4 separate regions of the Homo sapiens genome follow, and all the other regions are linked to region 4. The links are contacts of gene promoters, found by promoter capture Hi-C in blood cells and fetal thymus (Javierre and others, 2016). All regions are on one chromosome and are shown on one strand. Each heading gives the region's core, a stretch centred on a gene start or on the middle of the fragment in contact. The rest is flanking DNA. Distances are from core to core; before and after follow the strand shown.

The links. Contacts are between HindIII fragments. The CHiCAGO score rates a contact against its expected background, and 5 or more counts as called.
Region 1: a fragment that was not itself captured here is called in contact with the fragment with the promoter of BLK-AS1 in region 4 in 8 of 17 cell types (fetal thymus, total B cells, naive B cells and 5 more); the score reaches 17.2 in fetal thymus.
Region 2: a fragment that was not itself captured here is called in contact with the fragment with the promoter of BLK-AS1 in region 4 in 4 of 17 cell types (M2 macrophages, fetal thymus, total B cells and 1 more); the score reaches 6.6 in M2 macrophages.
Region 3: a fragment that was not itself captured here is called in contact with the fragment with the promoter of BLK-AS1 in region 4 in 3 of 17 cell types (total B cells, naive B cells and M2 macrophages); the score reaches 35.3 in total B cells.

What each region holds. Positions count from the first base shown.
Region 1 is chr8:11,428,575-11,431,274 of GRCh38, reverse strand. The region is part of intron 2 of FAM167A (family with sequence similarity 167 member A); the gene reads left to right. All of the region lies in intron 3 of FAM167A-AS1 (FAM167A antisense RNA 1), which reads right to left. Among named protein-coding and RNA genes, the nearest start is that of FAM167A, 37 kb to the left of the region's middle. The HindIII fragment of the contact is 1,455 bases long and covers 545-1,999 here.
Region 2 is chr8:11,309,584-11,312,359 of GRCh38, reverse strand. MTMR9 (myotubularin related protein 9) reads right to left here. Exons shown (of 10, transcript NM_015458.4): 6 at 2,672-2,776. Among named protein-coding and RNA genes, the nearest start is that of MTMR9-AS1, 14 kb to the left of the region's middle. The HindIII fragment of the contact is 1,350 bases long and covers 686-2,035 here.
Region 3 is chr8:11,709,888-11,712,831 of GRCh38, reverse strand. The region is part of intron 2 of GATA4 (GATA binding protein 4); the gene reads right to left. Among named protein-coding and RNA genes, the nearest start is that of SNORA99, 6.0 kb to the right of the region's middle. RefSeq lists enhancers at 1,927-2,850, 2,851-2,944. The HindIII fragment of the contact is 9,957 bases long and covers 1-2,944 here.
Region 4 is chr8:11,556,576-11,559,519 of GRCh38, reverse strand. BLK-AS1 (BLK antisense RNA 1) reads left to right here and starts at 1,255. Exons shown (of 5, transcript XR_948956.3): 1 at 1,255-1,630; 2 at 2,859-2,944. It overlaps BLK (BLK proto-oncogene, Src family tyrosine kinase), which reads right to left. Exons shown (of 13, transcript NM_001715.3): 9 at 2,683-2,862; 10 at 1,482-1,558. RefSeq lists an enhancer at 796-1,085. The HindIII fragment of the contact is 8,296 bases long and covers 1-2,944 here.

The sequences.
Region 1 (2,700 bases), core at 23-2,522, 130 kb after region 4:
CTTAGCATAATGTCCTCAAGATTCATCCATGTTATGGCATGTGCCAGGATTGTCTTCCTTTTCAAGGCTGAATAATATTCCACTTTATGGATAGGCCACATTGTGTGGATCCATTCATCTGTGGAGGGCACTGGGTTGGTTCCGCCTATTGGTGATTGTGAACGTGGATGTACAAATCCAGGTTCTAGCTTTTGCCTTCATTTGTTTGGGGTGTGTACCTGGAGTGGCATTGCCATGTCATATGGTAATTCTGTTTAACTTTCCGGGACCCGCCATGCTGTTTCCCACACCTTTCTTAAGGCTTTTGTTTTATTCCACCCAGCTCCGAGGGTAGGAGTCAGCTCTTCTGACTCCCCAGGAAAATCCCCAGGTCCAGAGAGACCCCCCAGCAAACCACTGGCTTGATGCATTAGACTTTTCTATGATCTGAATGTCCTCGGCTGACCTTCCCCTTGCGTTTTTCCTCTCTGGGTCCTTCTTCCAGGGCCGCCTTGGCCGTCTCCTCCAGCCCCCTTGCCACACCCTCCCCTCACCACGTAAAGCTTGGAAGTAAGGAAATCTCTGTCCTCTTCCAGACCCATTTAATTACCATCTTTAGTGACTTAATCCTGCTCTTGGGGGTTTGCCTTCTACCTTGAGAAACAACCTGGCTCTCTCTCTTGCTCTCTTTCTTTAATTGGTGTTTAAAATTTTTCAAAATGACTTCATTGAGATAAACTTTACATACCATACAGTTCACCTATTTGAAATAGCAATTCAGTGGTTTTTAGTGTTTTCAGAGTTGTGCAACCATCATCACGTATAATTTTAGAACATTTCAACACTTCACCCAGGTGCAGTGGCTCACATCTTAACGAGCATTCTTGTCTGCCCCCAAAAAAACAAACATCTGTAGTACAGATCACAAGCACAGCTGTTTCAAAGGGGCCACGTGTGGCTGCCGCCCTTCCCTTCTTCCAAGCCTGGTGGGGACACCCTGTCACCACAGTGCTTGGACAGCCCCCGACCAATGACATCTCTTCCCTTTCAACAAGTTCTGTGCCCTAATTATGGGGTTGCTGGGATTACAGGCTGCACCTCTGAGAATTCAGCAAGTGCTTTTGTTCTCAGAGAGACACCAGGCCACGCTGGGAGCGGGGACTGGAAATTGGCACATCCTATGGTAGAGCCTTTGCCAGAGACAGCATGAAACCCACACTGAGAGTTGAGTCACCCTGGCCAGCTTTTCAGGCTTTTAATGAGGGCTTAAAACTGGGAGGTCCTTGCTGGGTTCCATGTTCTGTGCCTTGGCCTGGAGAGAAAGGACTTAAGTGATGGTGCACCTCTTACTTTGATTTGGCCAGCGTAGTTCATATTTTCTGCCATGCTATTTGTTGTCGAATTTCATTCTCACTGTCCTTAGAAGAGATGAGAAGAGGCCTTATCTCTTTTCTGTAGATGAGGACACAGAAGTTCCAGGTGGCAGTGACTTGCCACCCAACGAGTGAGGAGTGGAGCTCAGCTTGAACCTGGGTTCTAACCCAGGGCTGTGGATTTTCCCTTTCTGCCACCCCTGGGCCCAGCTCGCCTCTGAGCAGACAGGAGCCTGGGAGAGTCTTCCAGCTCTGGGTGCTGACAGGCCCGAGTGTGGTCCAGATGCCATAGGCTGGCTGGCCATGAGCCGTTCCTTTACTTCTCTGAGACAGTTTCCTTGTAAGACAGACTAAAATCACACCTGCCATCTAGAGTTGTGGGAAAACATGATGAAACAATCTATGTCAAACGTGTGCGGCTGCAGCCGGGGCTGTGTTGTCATCCCCGCCTCCAGGGGGCCCCTTGGCAGAGCTTGAAGGGAAAACAGGAGGAGGCACTCCAGTCCCAGCTCAGACCTGCTCTCCTGAACTGGCGCAGCCCTCTGTGCCTTCCCGGGCAACCGCCGTCCTCCCGACTAACTCCACACAGGACCAGCAAAGACATATCTTCATTGCAAATCTCTAAAAAGATTAATTTATAAAAAGCTTCTTAGCCATCAGAAACCAGAGGACATTATGCTAAGTGAAATTAGCCACTCACAAAGGACAAATACTGTGTGATTCTACTTCTGTGAGGTTCTTAGAGTAGTCATACAGACAGAAAGTAGAAGGGTGGGTGCCAGGGGCTGGAGGAGGGGGATGGGGAGTTAGTGTTTGATGGATGCAGTTTCTGTTTAGAACGATAAAAAGAGCTCTGGAGATGGATGGTGGTTGCGCGACAACGTGAATGTACTTAATTGCCACCGAGCTGTACACTTAAAAATGGTTAAGATGATAACTTCTATGTTGTATGGATTTTATCACAACTAGAAAAAAATTCTAGAAACAAATTAAGCCTCTTATTCTTGCACATTTTGCTCAGATTTCTTCAGAGTCTGTGGGAACTCGTGTGGATTTGGTTCAATTACAGCAGAGTGACCTCCTAATCGGGGCTCAAGTTAGTGTTTAAGGTGCAAAGTCACCTTTGCAAAATGTCTGTGTGGCCCAGGGAGCAGCCGAGCATGGGCCCAGCACAGCCAGGGCTCCCGCATCACGGGGACAAACCCTGTTCTTTGGGGCAGGAGATGAATTTGTTGATTTGTGTGCAGGGATCCCAACACACTATGTATTGTGAGCATCTAAATGTGAGAACCCATAGTGCATCCTAGCGAGATGCTCACGCTGTGAGATGCCCTCAGAACCAAAGCCC
Region 2 (2,776 bases), core at 111-2,610, 250 kb after region 4:
AAAAACAAAATGCTGGGTGCAGTGGGTCAGACCTGTAATCTCAGCACTTTGGGAGGCTGAGGCAGGAGGATTGTTTGAGCTCAGGAATTTGAGACCAGACCGGGCAATAAACAGAAACCACATCTCTGTTAAAAATTGAAAAAAAAAATTAGGTGACCGTGGTGGTGTGCACCTGTAGTACTGGCTATTTGGGAGGCTGAGGTGGGAGAATCATTTGAGCCCAGGAGTTCTAGGCTGCGGTGCGCCGTGATCCTGCCACTACACTCCAGCCTGGGTGACAGAGCAAGGCCCTGTCTCCTAAATAAATAAATAATTAGGAACCTGAAGATTTGACTGAATTGCTGCAATTTCATGATGAAACTTGAAGAAATAAGGAGTTGCTTCTTATGGATGAGCAAGAAAAGTAGTATCCTGAGATAGAATCTACTCCTGGTGAAGATGCTGTGAATATTGTTGAAATGACAAAAAAAAAAAAAAAGATTTAGAATACCACATCAACTTAGGTGATAAAGCAGTGGCAGTGTTTGAGAGAACTGACTCTAATTTTGCAAGTTCAACCGTGGGTAAAAATGCTATCAAACGGTATCACATGCTACAGAGAAATCTTTCATGAAAGGAAGAGTCAATTGATGCGGCAATCTTCATTGCTGTCTTGTCTAAGAAATTGCCACAGCCATTCAAAGCTTCAGTAACTACCACCCTGATCAGTCAGCAGCCATCAATGGGGAGGCAAGGCCCTCTACCAGGGCCAATAACCTCAAATACCAATAAAGTATTTTTAAATTCAGGTATGTATATTGTTTTTTTAGACATAATACTATTGCACAATTAACAGACTGCATTATAGTGTAAACATAACTTTATATGCACTAGAAAACCAAATATTAATAATGAATGTGACTCACTTTATTGCATGACTTGCTTTACTGTGGTTTTCTGGAACCAAACCTGCAACATCTCTAAGGTGTGCCTGTGTGTAATATCCTATTAAGTGATGAACTGCAATTTACTTAATCCTATAGTTGGACATTTAGGTTATGCCAATTTTTGTTACATTGTAGATGATGTACTTAGCTTTTTGTCTTCTGTTGAATTCTTTGGGGGTTCTTAATTTAAAAGTAACAGATTCCCTGAAGTCACTTATGGTTAGGCTAACCCCATTCTCAGGATAAAACCTAATGACTAGGCTGAAGGGGATGAGCATGTACTTTAAGGCTTCTGTGTATATTGCATATGTACCTTAATTATCTGTGGGATATTCTGAATTCAATTCATTTAAACTCTATTTTCATGTTTTCAGTAATTAATTATAAGGGCAAATTTGTATGGAGGTGAAAATAATAGGCCAATATATATCAGAAAAAGGGACTCAAACATGGCAAAATTAACCAAAACCCTGAACCTTCCCAAGAGTCTGGAAGTCTCTGCCTTTGAGGTGGCCAGCTCAAACTAAATGAAGGTGGAAATCATGAGAACTGTTCTGCATTCTGCACTGAGGGATGTCTTAATCTGTATCATCATGCTGTCACAGCTGCAAAATTGAGAAATGTGGTGATTAACTGTTTATTACAATTCCTGTTTCATAAAAAAAACAGAAGCCTCTGTACTCATAATGTAAGGAGAAATCTGGTAAACTTAGGTTAAAAAGAAAAAAACCCTCAGTATTAACAAAATCATTATGTATTTGTTATTTCTCTGCCACAGAACCTTGGTCTTTAATTCCCACAGTTTATTAGGTAAATGGGCTTCACCTAACGCCTAAAACAGAAAGAACAGGGATAGCCTGGCAATCTTGACCCCAAGGGACTCTACCTTGATGGCTCTGTTGCTAACTTACCACATGATTTCAGCAACCCATTCTATTATGAATTTCTCTATAACCATAACAAATTAGGTATATATTTCCCTAATTTGGAAGCATCAATAAAACAAGTTAAAGTCTCAAAGAAAAGTGCCATCTATCCATGTGGTGATAATACTTATATCTACCTACTGTTTCAGTGGAATCCCCTTCTTAGAAACGGCATTCTAAGCTTCTGCAAGAATTTGTGCCAATCCTTCTGCCTCTGTTCAAGTCTTCTGCCACAAGACTCAAGGATTAGCAACCTTTAACTGAGTGAATTAACTATATGAACTAAAATCACTTCATATACTCAACATCACTACCACTAGGTGTTCTCAACTTGAGATCCAGATGTAATCGCACATATCAAGTAGTATGAAATAAGATATCCCGGAGGTTAGAAAGGATCATTTTACTGTGTAACAAAATTACGTTTCCTTTCGCTGATATTTCAAAAGTAAGGAGGTAAGTTCGCTCCTCTAAGAAAAAATAAGAAAACTTCCTTTCATTCTATTTCACAGTTTAAGAAAAAAATTGGCAAATTCATGATTTAAGGGTGTACTAGAAAAAAAAAACGGGTCCATTAGTACTTAAAAATTTGTGTCATAGAAGACATGTATATTTACCTGGTTCATATTTATGAAACAAACATTATCTATTAAATGCCAGACTCTAGGCACACACCTCATCAATAATGGGATGGTGTTGACTAGCCTACACAGTAATTTACTGCAAACTTTCACATAATCTATAAACATATGTCTGGATAAACACAAAGTCTAGTTAGCAGCGCCATGTTTCGCTCAGGAACGCTGAAATGCACTTTACCTGTCGATGCACTGAGCCGCTAGGCAGGCAGTTGTCAGAATCTCTTTGATGTGAGTCAGCCAGTTAGAGGCCTCCAATTTACTGAGCCATCGGTCCATGTTATGT
Region 3 (2,944 bases), core at 114-2,613, 150 kb before region 4:
AGGAGTACAGTGGTGCAATCACGGCTCACTGCAGCCTCAACCTCCCTGACTCAAGCGATCCTCCCACCTCAGCCTCCTGAGTTGCTGGAGTTATAGGCATGCATTACCATGCCCAGTTAATTTTTTTTTTTTTTTTTTTTTAGAGATGTGGTCTCACTATGTTGTCCAGGTTGGTCTCAAACTCCCGAGCTCAAGCAATCCTCCCACCTCAGCCTCCCAAAGGGTGGGATTACAGGTGTGAGCCACTGCACCTGGCCTCTTTTTCTTTGTCTTTCTTTTTTTTCCTATAAAATGGTCAATATTTCTTTTTTTAAAAAATTGCTGGTTCTTTTCCTGACAAACTCCTACTCACCCTTCAAGACCAAATGAAGCTGGCAGCACTTAAATGACTACTTCCAGAATCTCAGCAGAGGGAAGAATGATGCTGCTTCTCCTTTGCTCTCAGCTGCTTCTCCTCTGCTGTTTCTTCTTTGTTCTCAGCTCATTACCAAACCACAACGATGGGTAATGCACCCATTTTCACATTGAGTGTCCAACAATCTGCGTTCACTGGGGACTGTCCCAGGTTTACCACGAACAATCCCACATTCTGGGAAAACCCTCAGTCCTGGGCACACCAGCAAAATTGGTAACTCTACATGACAGTGAGTGGCTATTCAATAAAATAACCATCATTTATGAAGGGCTAAAGCCAAATTCTTCAAAAGTATTACCTTACTTTTCTAATTTAAGGCAACACTAAAAATTGTTATGATGATCCCATTTTACAGAAAAAGAGGTGAGACCGAGAGAGGTAAGTAACTTGCCCAAGATGACACGAGGCTCCTGGAACTGAATCTAGGTTTGCCCAACTTTAAAACCCTGTGCTCCTCCCACCACACTGTCTGGCCATCTTAGGGCTCAGTGGCAACTCCTCAGAAAGCTGGGGTCAGTTCTCATCTTCCCTCCATGACTCAGGGTCAGCTACTATGTGATGCTGGTCCTCACTAAAGCTGCCAGGCAGGTAGGAGAGCCCAAGTAATGGGAAGAACATATAAAAAGCACATTCACATGCACTGGTTTTTTTTTTTTTTTTTTTTTTTTTGAGAGAGGGTCTCACTCTGTCACCCAGGCTGGAGTGCAGTGGCCTCGGGCTCATGTGAGCCTCCTACCTCAGCTTCCAAAGCTGGGACTACAGGCATGCCACCCCAAGCCTGGCTAATTTTTTAAAATGATTTGTAGGGATGGGGTCTCACTATGTTGCCCAGGCTGACCTCGAACTCCTGGCCTCAAATGATCCTCCTGCCTCAGCCTCCCAAAGTGCTGGGATTACAGGCATGAGCCTCTGCGCCTGGCCACATGCACTGCTTTTAATTTCAGTTGCTTTTATGTAAGTGCCACCTGCATAACACGCTGAAGCTATGAATGCCAACAAGTTCAACATGCCCTGTGTTCCCTCACAGAGAGCCGCACCTCTCCTAAAACACTTGGCTGGGTGCAGAAGAGAAAAACCACCCTCTAGGCCAGATTCAAAGGCTGTGGACTTCATAAGCTATCCGGGAAGAGCCCAGAGAAGGCAGGTGGCAGTTCTTGGCAGAGAGACGCACAGGGAGGTCAGCTTGCCATTTGCTGACATGGGAATTTGGGAAACATCACTTCATCAGCAACCTCTACATGGCATGGCTGACATTTCAAAATCTGAATACTGTGTGCATTCACATGGTATTTCGGTTTTTTGTTTGTTTGTTTTGAGACATACTCCCTCTGTCGCCAGGCCTGGAGTGCAGTGGAGCAATCTCACTCAACCTCCGCCTCCCGGGTTCAACCGATTCTCCTGCCTCAGCCTCCCAAGTAACTGGGACTATAAGCACACACCACCAAACCCAGCTAATTTTTGTATTTTTAGTAGAGATGGGGTTTCACCATGTTGGCCAGGAACTCCTGACCTTGTGATCCGCCTGCCTCGGCCTCCCAAAGTGCTGGGATTACAGGCGTGAGACACCGCGCCCGGCGGGTATTTCGTTTTTACACTGCTGGATGTAACTCATGACTTTTAACTTCTCTCTTTTCCTTAACCAAACACCAAATTCCCTCCAGGATTGTCGGGGTTACAAAGCAAACTCTCCCTGGACCAGTCCTTTTTTTTTTTTTTTTTTTTTTTTTTGAGACGTAGTCTTGTTCTGTTACCAGGCTGGAGTGCAGTGGCGCGATCTCGGCTCACTGCAACTTCTGCCTCCCGGGTTCAAGCGATTCTCCTGCCTCAGCTTCCCCAGTAGCTGAGACTACAGGCGCGCGCCACCACGACCGCTAATTTTTTTTTTTTTTTTTGTATTTTAGTAGAGGCGGGGTTTCAACAGGTTGGCCAGGATGGTCTCGATCTCCTGGCCCAGTCCTCCCTATTTTAAGTCAGAGGCCCCAGAGGGCCCTGGAGAGGACCCCGTAAGCGCGCAAGGCCAGGGCGCCGCGCCCCGCCCCGCACTCCCGCCTGCGGGCTCCATTGTGTGGCCATGTCGCCGCGCTATCTCGCAAAAGTCGCGGCGAGGCTCGGCCGGGCCCCTCCTCCCCTGGGGGTGGCCGTCTGGCTCCCCCAAGAGGGGTGAGGGGGAGGGGAACACCAAGAGCCACAGACCGGGCCTCGGCGCCACTTTCAGGGTTAATCAGTTTGCCGGCGATGTGTATTTGGCTGCACCCCCGGGAACCTTCCCTGGCCACCCAGGGCCAGAGGACAATTTAAAAGCGCTTCAAAGCCTAGGCCCTTCTCGGAGCCAGCCCAAGACTGGAAACCTGGCAGGGGTAGCCTTTACTCTTCAAAGTGAGAACAAATGCAGAAGGATTTAGCACTTAGTAGGTGGTCAATAAACGCGAGCTTTGCTTCTCAAGCCTGGGCTTCCCCTCCCCCACAGGGTGGGCTCAATCCAAACTCACTCCTCCGTCTCTTCCCGAAATTCCAGAGGTCGTTTGCATT
Region 4 (2,944 bases), core at 6-2,505:
TGTGTGTGTGAGTTTGTGAGTTTGTGTAAATGTGTTTGTGTGAGTTTGTGTTTGAGTCTGAGTCTGTGTATTTGTGTGTCTGTGTGAGTTTGTGTGTGTGAGTCTGTGTGTCTGTGTGTGTGTCTGTCTGTGTGTGAGTTTGCGTGTCTGTGTGAGTCTGTGTATGTGTTTGTGTTTGTCCGTGTGTGTGTGAGTCTGTGTTTTTATGTGTGTGAGAGTGTGTGTGTGTACATGTGTGCTTAGAGAGCCATTGGCATGGTCAGCATGTGGTTAGAGGCTGCCCTTCTGGGAAGTTCTGATTTTCTGGCTCCTCACCCCCGATTCTGTGGCTACATCCAGGTATTAAACTCCGATGGCTTTTCACATCCTTTGCCCCTGGGTCACACGAGATTTCCCAAGGGGGTGTAGTGGGGATTGAATAGGAGACAGCGGAGGGTGAGAGAAGGAAGGGGAAAGGAAGCAGCAGCAGTGGGCAGGCTTATCACTGCCCTGGGGTTTGAAGCCGGTTACCAGCACTCATTTTCCAAAACCAGCCTGCCCAGATGGCTGTCTGCCCACCTCAGCGGAAAAAGGCGTTGTGGCATCAGTTCCTGCAGCGGCGCTACTGGGTAAGGCTGGGCGAGGGGCGAGGTGGGAGGGCTGATGTGGGCGGTGGGTGGGAGCGTTTCCTCTCGGTGGCAGCTGTATGTGTGTGTGTATGTGTACGCACGTGTGTGCCTCACAGGCTGACCACAGACCAAAACTTTTCTGCTGAGAGTTCCAGTTTTAACAGGGCCACCAGATGTGCTTCCTGCCAGCTAGAGCTCTCGGCTAAAACCCTCCTCTCCACTCTGCTCTTCACCCCATGGAGTCCAGAAAGTTCTGCATGTGAACGTGAGGGACACTGAGGACCAGTCCTGGGTAGCCAAGGAGGTCCAGCACTCGCAATTCCCTGGTGGCAGAAGGTGGGGCTGTCCTCCAGGGCTCAGAGAAGTCATGTCCCTGGCATCTGTGTGTAGCTCAGGCCTGCCCATCAGCCTGGGGTCGACGCCAGGGCTGTGCAAAGGCTGAGGGCCCCTGGGATGGGAAGTCCTACAGGAGATGTTTGTGGGCACCATCTAAGGAAGAGATGAGGTCACAACAGAACACACTTGCCTGCCGGGTTCAATGGAACTCTTGCTAACTCTGTGTGTTTCCCATGACATTCATTCGCCCTCTCTTCCTTCGGAACAGAATAGCCTCATTCCAACACAGCAGCCCGGGTCTAAGGCTCCATTCCCTGGGCTCCCTCACAGCTGCGTGGGGCAGGAGGCACAGTGGCCAGGGTTTGCAAGTCCAAGTGCAGTGGGTGACCTTGGGGATATCTGCCTAGAGGAAGGTGGCCTTCAGTACCCCCTGACTTCTCCTGCTGGCTGAGAGGATGGGGTGGTAAGGCACGAGCAGCCATTGTGGGCAGCAGGTGGCACATGCCGCCCTTTCTCTGCACCTGGTACTTCACCAACCTGCGCCGACATGTCAATCAGCCTTGGGAGTGACAATCTGCTCCCTTCATCTGTCTTCAGGAAATCCAGCAGGCATCCTAAGAAAAGAGAAGTTGCAAGTGCCCTTCTGCAAAGTGACCCGCCCCTGGTGGTGCCAGCCTCTCTCTGGTGTGAGTGGCTCCCCATGGGCGCGGGAAGTGGGAGTTTGCACCCTCAGATCTCTCGGTGCATCAGGAAGGATCTACCTACTGCTGCCGAGTGCCTTCCACTTTACAAAATGCCAGTCTCAGCACCCCGGGAGGCAGCCAATATACCAGCAGTTGCCCAGAAGTTAGGTTTCAGCCAGGTGCAGGGACCTGTCTGAAGTCACCCAGCCGGGAGCTGGGAGTGGGACCCCAGTTCTGACTCGAAGTTTCATGCCCCTTCTTGTCTTTCCCCCCGTGTTGGCCTCGCTCCCTTGATCCCTGCTGGCAGACACCCTCTGCCTCTGAGGACCAGGCATCAGCAAGAAAGCACCAGAATGGAGAGAACTGTCCCCCAGGTTTGGTGCAGGGGACAAATGCAGCTCCCCCTGGAATCAGAAAGCTGGGAGGGATGGATGCTTGCCCTAGGGGCAGGCTAGAGGCACCCCCAGCACAGCCTCCGACCGGGGGCCCCTTGGTGACAGTTGTTAGGGAGCTATATCAACATGGGCATGTTAGGATCCTATAGGAGCAGTGTGCGGTCAGGGTCATAGGAGGGTGAGAAAGTGGCATGAGAACTTGGCCACGCCGTGGACCTCAGAGGCCATCAAGCCCAACCTCTCTGGCCATCCTTGTAAAATATTCACACAGTTGTAAATGGTTGCATGACCAGGAGGCAGGAGACCTGGATCTAGTACTGTCCCTGCATGCCTGGCCTGGTGTTCGTCTGACTTTGCAATGCTCTGTCCCTCCCAGCAGGCATCAAAGAGTGCTAGGCACAGAAGATGCACTCCAGAAATGCTGTCTGAACTGCTCCTGGGCTGAGAACATGGCTCTGTCAGAACCACTTCACCCTCCTGTTTCTCACCCTCCCTCTGTCCCTCCCCCTCCCTCCATCCCTCCCTGTCCCCACACCGTGCCATGCCCTAGATCTGCAGGACCCCCTGGCCTGGTGAACCCACCGCAGCGGACCCTCCTCCTCCTGCTAAGCCCGGCCCTCCCGCCTCGCTCTGAGGATGCGGCTCTGCGGGGGGCACCACCTCTGGCCATGTACTCGGTGACAATGTAGATGGGCTCCTTGGTGACCACTGCGTAGAGTCGGACCAGCCGCTCGTGCTGCAGAGCCTTCATCACGTTGGCCTCACCCAGAAAGGCTTCTGGAGACATGGTTCCCTCCTTCAGCGTCTTAATGGCCACCTTCATGTTGTTTTTGTAGTAACCTGAGCCCGGGGGAGTGAAGAAGCCAATCAGAAGACAGAGAGCTTGCTCGGAGGTGATCCCTTAACCAAAATCGGGGTAAGT